Regions from separate parts of the Homo sapiens genome. Here region 2 is linked to region 1. The links are contacts of gene promoters, found by promoter capture Hi-C in human tissues and cell types (Jung and others, 2019). All regions are on one chromosome and are shown on one strand. The core of a region is centred on a gene start or on the middle of the fragment in contact, and the rest is flanking DNA. Distances in the headings are between cores, read along the strand shown. Region 1 holds the start of HTR1B (5-hydroxytryptamine receptor 1B). Region 2 overlaps LOC105377862 (a long non-coding RNA gene).

What was found. The method cuts DNA at HindIII sites, captures the fragments that hold promoters and counts their contacts. A contact is called where the count stands out against the background at its distance.
Region 2: a contact is called between a fragment that was not itself captured here and the fragment with the promoter of HTR1B in region 1, in 2 of the 25 tissues and cell types used here (dorsolateral prefrontal cortex and mesenchymal stem cells).

The regions. Positions count from the first base shown.
Region 1 is chr6:77,461,223-77,465,219 of GRCh38, forward strand. It overlaps HTR1B (5-hydroxytryptamine receptor 1B), which reads right to left and starts at 2,269. Exons shown (of 1, transcript NM_000863.3): 1 at 1-2,269. The coding sequence starts at 2,181. The coding sequence ends at 1,009. The region is part of intron 5 of LOC105377864; the gene reads left to right. RefSeq lists a silencer at 1,135-1,279. The HindIII fragment of the contact is 6,434 bases long and covers 1-3,997 here.
Region 2 is chr6:76,982,487-76,986,483 of GRCh38, forward strand. All of the region lies in intron 2 of LOC105377862 (a long non-coding RNA gene), which reads left to right. Among named protein-coding and RNA genes, the nearest start is that of LINC02540, 390 kb to the left of the region's middle. The HindIII fragment of the contact is 7,110 bases long and covers 1-3,997 here.

The DNA.
Region 1 (3,997 bases), core at 1,019-3,518:
GACACTTTTCTTGTTAAGAAACAGTATATTTCCAATACTAATCGGTTTTACCAATTGCATTAGTAAGAAATATAGCAGCAGTGTGGGCTGAGTCACCCATCATACCCTTCATTTATGGGGATTTAAATGTGTAAAGTGACAGGTACATGAAATTAAGAGAAAAAATAAAGCAGTCTGCAGACTTCGGCACTAGCACACATAATGGTTTGTTTGTTAGAGTTGTGGCTTGACAATCGCTAAACAGGAATTACAAAATTGTAAATCTGCAGAAAACAAACAATCATAGGTGTTGATTCTCAGTTTAACACTCCTCATCTCCCATTCCCACCCACCCACCCCCATATAGTTTCAAGTATAATAAAAATAGAGATCTCAGCATCAGAATTTTGCTGTTAACTCTTCAAGGTTTCTCTGCGCCATCCAAGCCACACATAGGGTTTGAAGCACCAAATCCACAAGTTTCTCCAACCAAGTTTAAATAGACAAAAAGTGAAGACTGAATGATGCCAAAGTAACTGTTCTTAAATTAAGCTGTAACACAAAGTTCTCCCCCCAAAAACACAGGGCATTAAGCGTCTAGTTCAAGTACTGCCAGGCTGTATGTAGATCTGTCTCAGACAGGCTTCAGACAACAATTACAAGTACACTGCTTCTAGTGGGCATTATCCACGATACCAAAGCAGGGCAGGGATTCCCTTCCATTATCAATTTTTAAAAGTTGCAACCCCCTTTGGGATTGGCTGCCGCAGGGTCAGTGCTGAGCCCGGGGCTTGAGGGGAGGAAGTGAGCCTCCTCCTGGGCAGGGAAGCTCTACATTTAGTTTCAACACTTCTCCTTTCAGAGCTCTCTCTCAGGACTATTCTGGCTTCTCAGGATCCATTGCCCTTGCCCAGGAGAGAGAGCCTCGCTGGGACCCAGAAACCGCGAAAGAAGATTCGACCTACCTGTGGAACCAGACACAACTTGGTCCCCAAAGGTCGCTTAGGCGACCCCACTGCAAACGGCAAGTCAACTTGTGCACTTAAAACGTATCAGTTTATGGAATGCTTGTTTAAAGTCCTCATTGGACATGGTATAGATTATGGGGTTGATGAGGGAGTTGAGATAGCCCAGCCATGTGAAGAAGTCAAAGATGGCTAGGTGGAACCAGCAGGCATCTTTGCAGATAGGCATCACTAGGGAGATGATGAAGAAGGGTAGCCAACACACAATAAAGGCTCCCAAAATGATCCCTAGGGTCTTGGTGGCTTTGCGCTCCCTAGCGGCCATGAGTTTCTTCTTTTCCAGCAGGGCGTCGGAGACTCGCACTTTGACTTGGTTCACATACACAGGAGATCCGGATTCGCTGGGCACGTCGGGAACCCGCGAGTTAATAGAGGTGACCGAGGACGTGGACCCGGGGGAGTCGGTTATCAGCTGGGCTCGGGTCAAGCGCTTGCCGGTCCTGTTGGGCGTCTGTTTCAAAATCCGGGAGCGGGCTTCTACGTAGATGCGGCCATAGAGGGCGATGAGGAGCAGGGTGGGGAAGTAGAAAGCACCCACCGTGGAGTAGACCGTGTAGAGGATGTGGTCGGTGTTCACCACGCATTCCGACACCTCCTCTTCGGCCTTAGCCTGACGCCAGAAGAAGGGCGGCAGCGAGATAGAGATGGAGAAGACCCACACCAGCGCGATCATGACCGCCGCCCTCTTGGGAGTCCTTTTAGCTGAGTACTCCACGGCGTCCGTGATGGCCCAGTAGCGGTCCAGGGCGATGACACAGAGGTGCAGGATGGAGGCAGTGCAACAAGTGATGTCCGACGACAGCCAGAAGTCACAGACCACCTGGCCCAGTGTCCAGCGGCCGGTGACAGTGTACATGGTGCTGATGGGCATCACCAGGATGGACACAAGCAGGTCGGTGACCGCCAGAGAGGCGATCAGGTAGTTAGCCGGGGTGTGCAGTTTCCGGGTCCGGTACACTGTGGCAATCACAAAGGCATTGGAGAGCGTGGTGGCCAAGGTGATGAGCGCCAATAGCATAACCAGCAGTACTTTCCAGGGTAGGGAGATGGAGTCCTGGTAAATGTAGTCCTTGGCGCTGCAGTTTTGGGAGGGAGCAGAGGATAAGTTGGCTTGAGGAACCCAGGTCTCGGAGCCCGCGGGCGGCGGTGGAGCGCACTGAGCACCCGGTTCCTCCATGGCTCTCCTCGCCCCAGCTCCGGAGCGCAGCTCTTGGGCATGGAGCGGACGAAGGAGAGGGCGGAAGGACCGTGGCGATCGCAGGTTTGTCCCCAGTTGATAGTTCCGTGAGTTCCTCAATTATTCCTCCGCCCAGGTTCACAGCTGAAACTAGAGGTCATGGGTGCGGCAGCCAAGGCAGGCGGGCGCCTCCCCTGCACTTCCAGAGCGCCTAGCTAAGCCGCCGCGTCTGTGGTTGTTCCTCTCCACACCGGGTCTTAGACCTGGGTTGCTAAGAGCTGGCCCACCGAGCCCTGCTCCGCTCCAGCTCCCTGGAGGCGTCTAGTGCAGGAGGGTGAAGTACTGCTTGAGGAGAAGGCTTTGACCAAATGGGATCTCTTACCCCAGTTGCTTGAGGCTGAGCGTCTCCTAACCTGGACGCTTTTGGATCTGCAGACTTTGCCCACAGGAGTTTCCTAGGTGTAGAGACCAAAGCTTGCAGGCCAGCGAGAGGTCCCGAGATCTTGCATTCCCACCCCTCGCCCCAAGCTGGGGCACTTTTGGGGGGCTGCAGCGGCCGCCAGAGCTGGGTGGGGTGAAGTCTAGGAGCAGCGCTGCGCCGCGCCTCGCGCCGGAGCTCTGCCCTCCCTCTCTTTTCACTCTCTGGCCACTCGGACGAGCTGCCCCGCGGAGACGGAGCCATAAAAGGGGGGACACGGGGGCTGGAGTTGCGGCTGCTCGGGCCGCGCCGCCGCCACCGCCACCCTGGTCCCACGGGAGCCACTCGGAGCCATGCCACTGGGTGCGCGGGTCTGGAGGACCTGGCGCGGCACACTGGGAAGGGGCAGGTGTCTGGGGGAGCTGGAGGGACGCGGCGTGCACCAGCCCGGGAGAAGCGTGCGAGCTACGGAGCAGATGGGCTCTTTATATAGAGTCCAGGTCCGGTCCGCCAGAGCAGTGCAACTCGTGCGGCGCGGCGGGTGCGGACGCCCGCTCCCCATCACCTTCCCTTTTTCTCTCTCCCTCCCTCTTTTCCCCCCGCCCTGTTCCTTTCCTGGCCAAGGAAGCTCCCGCCGGGTCCTACCGCCCTATCTCCCCGCTTCCCACCCTGGGCCATCCTCCCAGCCCTGACAACCTGGAGCTGCATTTCTGGTCAGGGGAAGAAGGCGTCCTGTTCTCGCCTCTACGGACATCAGAGCTTGCTGCGCTGACCTCCAGTGAGACCCATGTCCTTAGCCATGGTCACAGGTTTAGTCCAGCAGTCTGGCCCTAGGCTCCTGCCTACCACTCCCACCCTAGGAGGCCAGTGTTAGGCGGGGAAGCCCTGGTCTCTGACCTCTCCGCTCTAAAATCATATCCAGCCCTGATGGCCACACCCAGGTTAGGAGGCACCAGTAATATCGCTGTAGAGGGCCCAATGTTTGCATTTTGTACTTTGCCGTCCTTAACTCTTGATACAATAAAAACTATTTTTTCATCTAGTTTTAGAAATTTGTGTTTTTCACTCAACTATGAGTCAACAGGGAAAAAGACAAGCTATCTGCGAAAATGTAAAAGTTATCACAAACAGAAGCCAACTGTATGTGAAATTAAACCTTCTGCTCCACCATCCTCTTCCAGCTGCTCAGTGCTTCAGTGCCTCTGGAAAACAGTTGCCAGTAAGCGTGTTCCTTCCAACAGCCTACCTAGAAAGGAGGTCATCAGAATTCAAGAAAAAAGGGGGATGGTGGGGCGGGGAGGACTGGAACCATCATCAGCACCATCTTGTGTGTCTCCTTTGCCTTCAACTAATATGTGGGAATGTCAGCCATAAGCTGCAGCATGCAATACCAGTACC
Region 2 (3,997 bases), core at 1,092-3,591, 480 kb before region 1:
AGCTCCCTGTCTTTCTTTCTCCTACTCCCTCTTTCTCTCCTGGCAACAATAGGTCAAGTCTGTTTGGCTGTATCATAATTATTTTCATAAGTTTAACTACCCTGAGGTTGCTTGAGGTTGTTTCATATTCACTCTTTCTTCAGCTGCTGCCCAAATTCTTATCATTGCACAGTGTAAATATACACAAATGAGGAGTTCAGTAACAATAAATCAAGTACCATACATAAATAAATGGAAACACTGTAAGAGTAATAGTCCAGCATATGTAGGAATAAGTAGAAAATGATAGTGGATATTCAGAAAAAAATTTGAATTGCGGATTGTTCTAAATTCATTGCAAATTAACATCTGAGACGCTGAATTTGTAACATAGATGAATGATTACAGAAAGCTTTACGGGGAAATGAATCTTAGATAAAATTTTGCTAGAAAGGGAGATCCCAGGAGTGTGAGATGCAATGGCATGCATAAGAATGTGGAGGAGGTAAGGACTCTTGGTGTGGTGCATATTGGTAGGGGTGGTTTCTTAGCCAGCCTCAGTGGAATACAGTAGGAAATCTCAGCCACAGATGTACAGTGGAACCATCTGGAGAACTTTTCAGCCCCATGTGTTCTTTGCCCAAAACACACTAATAAAATCCATGGGAGCTTGTCAGCCAAATTGGCAAGCTATAGCTGCTGACAGAAGTAGTTGTTCTTGCATTTATCCAAAAAAGCAAGACCAAGTCACCTTCCATATGAGGGGTCCATTGCTTAAAACAATTCTGGTCCTTATGACCGTACCATCAGTGGGGAAGCCTGATGTGGCAGAGAGAGAGATACAACACATGTAATCATTGAACACGTCAGGATTCAGTTGTGAGTCCTTCCTGCTTGTATGTTATTATGAATGTGATAATCCATACATCTTTGTCTCTTTGCTTCTCAGTGTATGTTTAAATTGACTTAATTACCAACCCTTTCAAGAATTTTTGTTTGGTCTGTGAACTTTTCAATTCTGTGACCTCTTAAATAGCTTGCTCAGTGCATACTTGGAGGCCACAACGGCAACAACATAATTTACGACATGATGTAACCTATTTTTAAAATGTTCCACAAGTGGTTTTAATATGCAGCTCAGTTAAAAACTGCTGGGATAAAGAATTTGAAGATCCAAAGGAAAATTACAGATGGTGAAGGACTTTAGATGTGATGTTAAAAAAATATTTCTATTTTGTTACATAGGAAACCAGGAGTCCTTTAAATACAATAATAAAGATATAAAATTTGTGCATCTTTAACATTGAATTGACAGTGGTATGCAAGTAGGACTGGATAAGGGAGATGACTAGATGCCTAACAGGAAATTAGAAGTGTTGAAAAAGACCAGTTTGGTGAAATAAACCTAGAATAAGATGATAGAATCTGAATGGAAAGGAAGAGGACATTTTGGTCGTCTTAGATCCATTCACTTCCCAATTCATATTATGAAGGCAGTATTAACGAAGTATAAAAACCAGACAAAAATATCATAAGAAAATAAAACTATAGACCAATATCCCCTATCAACATACATTCAAAACTCTTTAACACAATTCTTAACAAATTATCAGCAAATACAATCTGGAAACATAAAAAGTCTATACTATATACAATGGTGGTTTATACTAAAAATGCAAGATTAATTTAACTTTGGAGGTTTTTCTCAGTGTTCTACTCCATACTCAATTTTCAGTAGTCCCTGCCTAGCTGATTGGGTCATCAACTGTCCCACTTTGCCTGGGTCTGTTCCAGTTTTTTGTTTGTTTGTTTGTTTTTGAGACGGAGTTTCACTCTTGTTGCCCAGGCTGGAGTCCAATGGCGCTATCTCGGCTCACTGGAACCTCCGCCTCCCGGGTTCAAGCAATTCTCCTGTCTCAGCATCCCGAGTAGCTGGGATTACAGGCATGCACAACTACGCACAGCTAATTTTGTATTTTTAGTAGAGATGGGGTTTCTCCATGTTGGTCAGGCTGGTCTTGAACTCCTGACCTCAGGCGATCCACCTGCCTCAGCCTCCCAAAGTTCTGGGAATACAAGGTGTGAACCACAGAGCCCGGCCGGGTCTGTTCCAGTTTTAACCTACTTTCCAGAAACCCCTCCCTAGGAGGCAGAAAATTTTGGCTTTTTGGTGATGGGGCAAAAAATTGATGGAAATGTACAAAACTCATGCTGTATTTTCCAAAATAGTGGCTGAAAGCACCCATGTTTTTAGTTTCAAGTGAATACTATATGATTTGCAGTTCATGACAATGAATCATCCATGATTCATCACACTGATTGATATGACTTAAATGTGCAATTTAATAATTATGACCTTTAGCAGTTCATCTTTGATTTTGCCCAGGGATTGACTGTTATGCTTAGTGCTACTTTAGCTTTCAACATTGTGAATATTGTGACCATGTTTTCTAAGTACTAAAATTATGAAGCAATTGCAATATGAAAACAAGCATGCAGAAGACATCACTGAAAAAGTAGGATAAATTACTGGGCAATTTGAATAACAAATGAAAGGACACACACGACTGGAATAAGGGGATAAATAATCAAAACAGAGCATAGTGTACAATACATAAAAAAGAATTTGGGCTTAAACACAGGGGAGAAGAGAATAAGAAAGCACACAGGAAGATGGAAGCTTTGAAGTCCAACATGCAATAGGCAGATACTTCAAGCCAAGAAAAAGTTTTTAGCCTCCCCAAAAGAAACCAATGCTCAGATAAAAATAAGGGTGACTGAATTTGTTTGGGGATACTACATGATCAAACATATATTAAAGTACTGTTCCTTTGATTGCTGTATGAAACTCAATAAATATACATTTCCTTATTCAAAACTGGCAATTAAAATGTTCTGTGGAAGTACTGAAGAGAAAATTTTAATAACAGATGTGGTGCTCCCTTCAGTATGGAGATTCCTTAAAATCTTAATGAAGATCATGCTTTCCAGAGTATATAAAGTGATTTTTAAAAACTTTTATTTTAATAAGTTCAGGGTTACATATGCAGGTTTGTTATTACATTTGTAACATGTGCCATGGGGATTTGTTGTAGAGATTATTTCATCTCCAGGTATTAAGCCTAGTACCCACTAGTGATTTTTCCTGATCCTCTCCCTCCTCCCACCATCCACCCTCCAAAATGCCCCATTGTGTGTTGTTCTCCTCTATGTGTCCATGTGTTCGCATCATTTAGTACCCACTTATAACTGAGAACATGCGGTATTTGGTTTTCTGTTACTGCATTAGTTTTTTTGAATCACGGCAACAACAAGAATATTCGTTTCAAACAATTAGAAGGAACATTTATTTGAGTGATAGAGTCTCAAATCACCTTTTTGATTTCTATAAAGGTTTAAATGAAATGTAAGAAAATATAAAACTAAAGATTATGGATATTTTTGTCCAAATACACAGTATACTTTTCTTCTCTATCTGCATATTTGGCAAATAGTAAAAATGTAAATGTTGGCAAATGTAATTAAGTCTATAAACTTCTTCATCAAGGAAACCTGAAAGGTCTTATCTACTAAATGTCCTATACACCTTGTACACGACACTCCAAAAGGGAGTATAACTTGTTTACCTGTGATTTTGAGGTTTTCATAAAATTTTTTGTTTAGTTTTTAGTTTCCTCAAAATGCACAGGAACACTTAATGAGATTTTTTAACTTTATTAAAATGGAAAGAGATAGTCTCCTTAGATATATATTTACAAAATGCTTATTAGTTTCTGCCATAGAAAATATGTCAAAATATTGTTCTGCCATAAAATGACATTTTTAAACTGTGGGACAAGAATAGTGTCTTCCAATTTAAAAATTAATGGATATAAGAATTAAGTAAATGATTACAGAAAAATAGAAATTTACATTTTGTTTCTCCAAACGGATGATTCTAAGGAGGCCATCACTTGCCAAGAAAAGGATGAACTGACTATGCTTGTGTTGTTTAATGTTATGTTTAGGTTGTAATAGA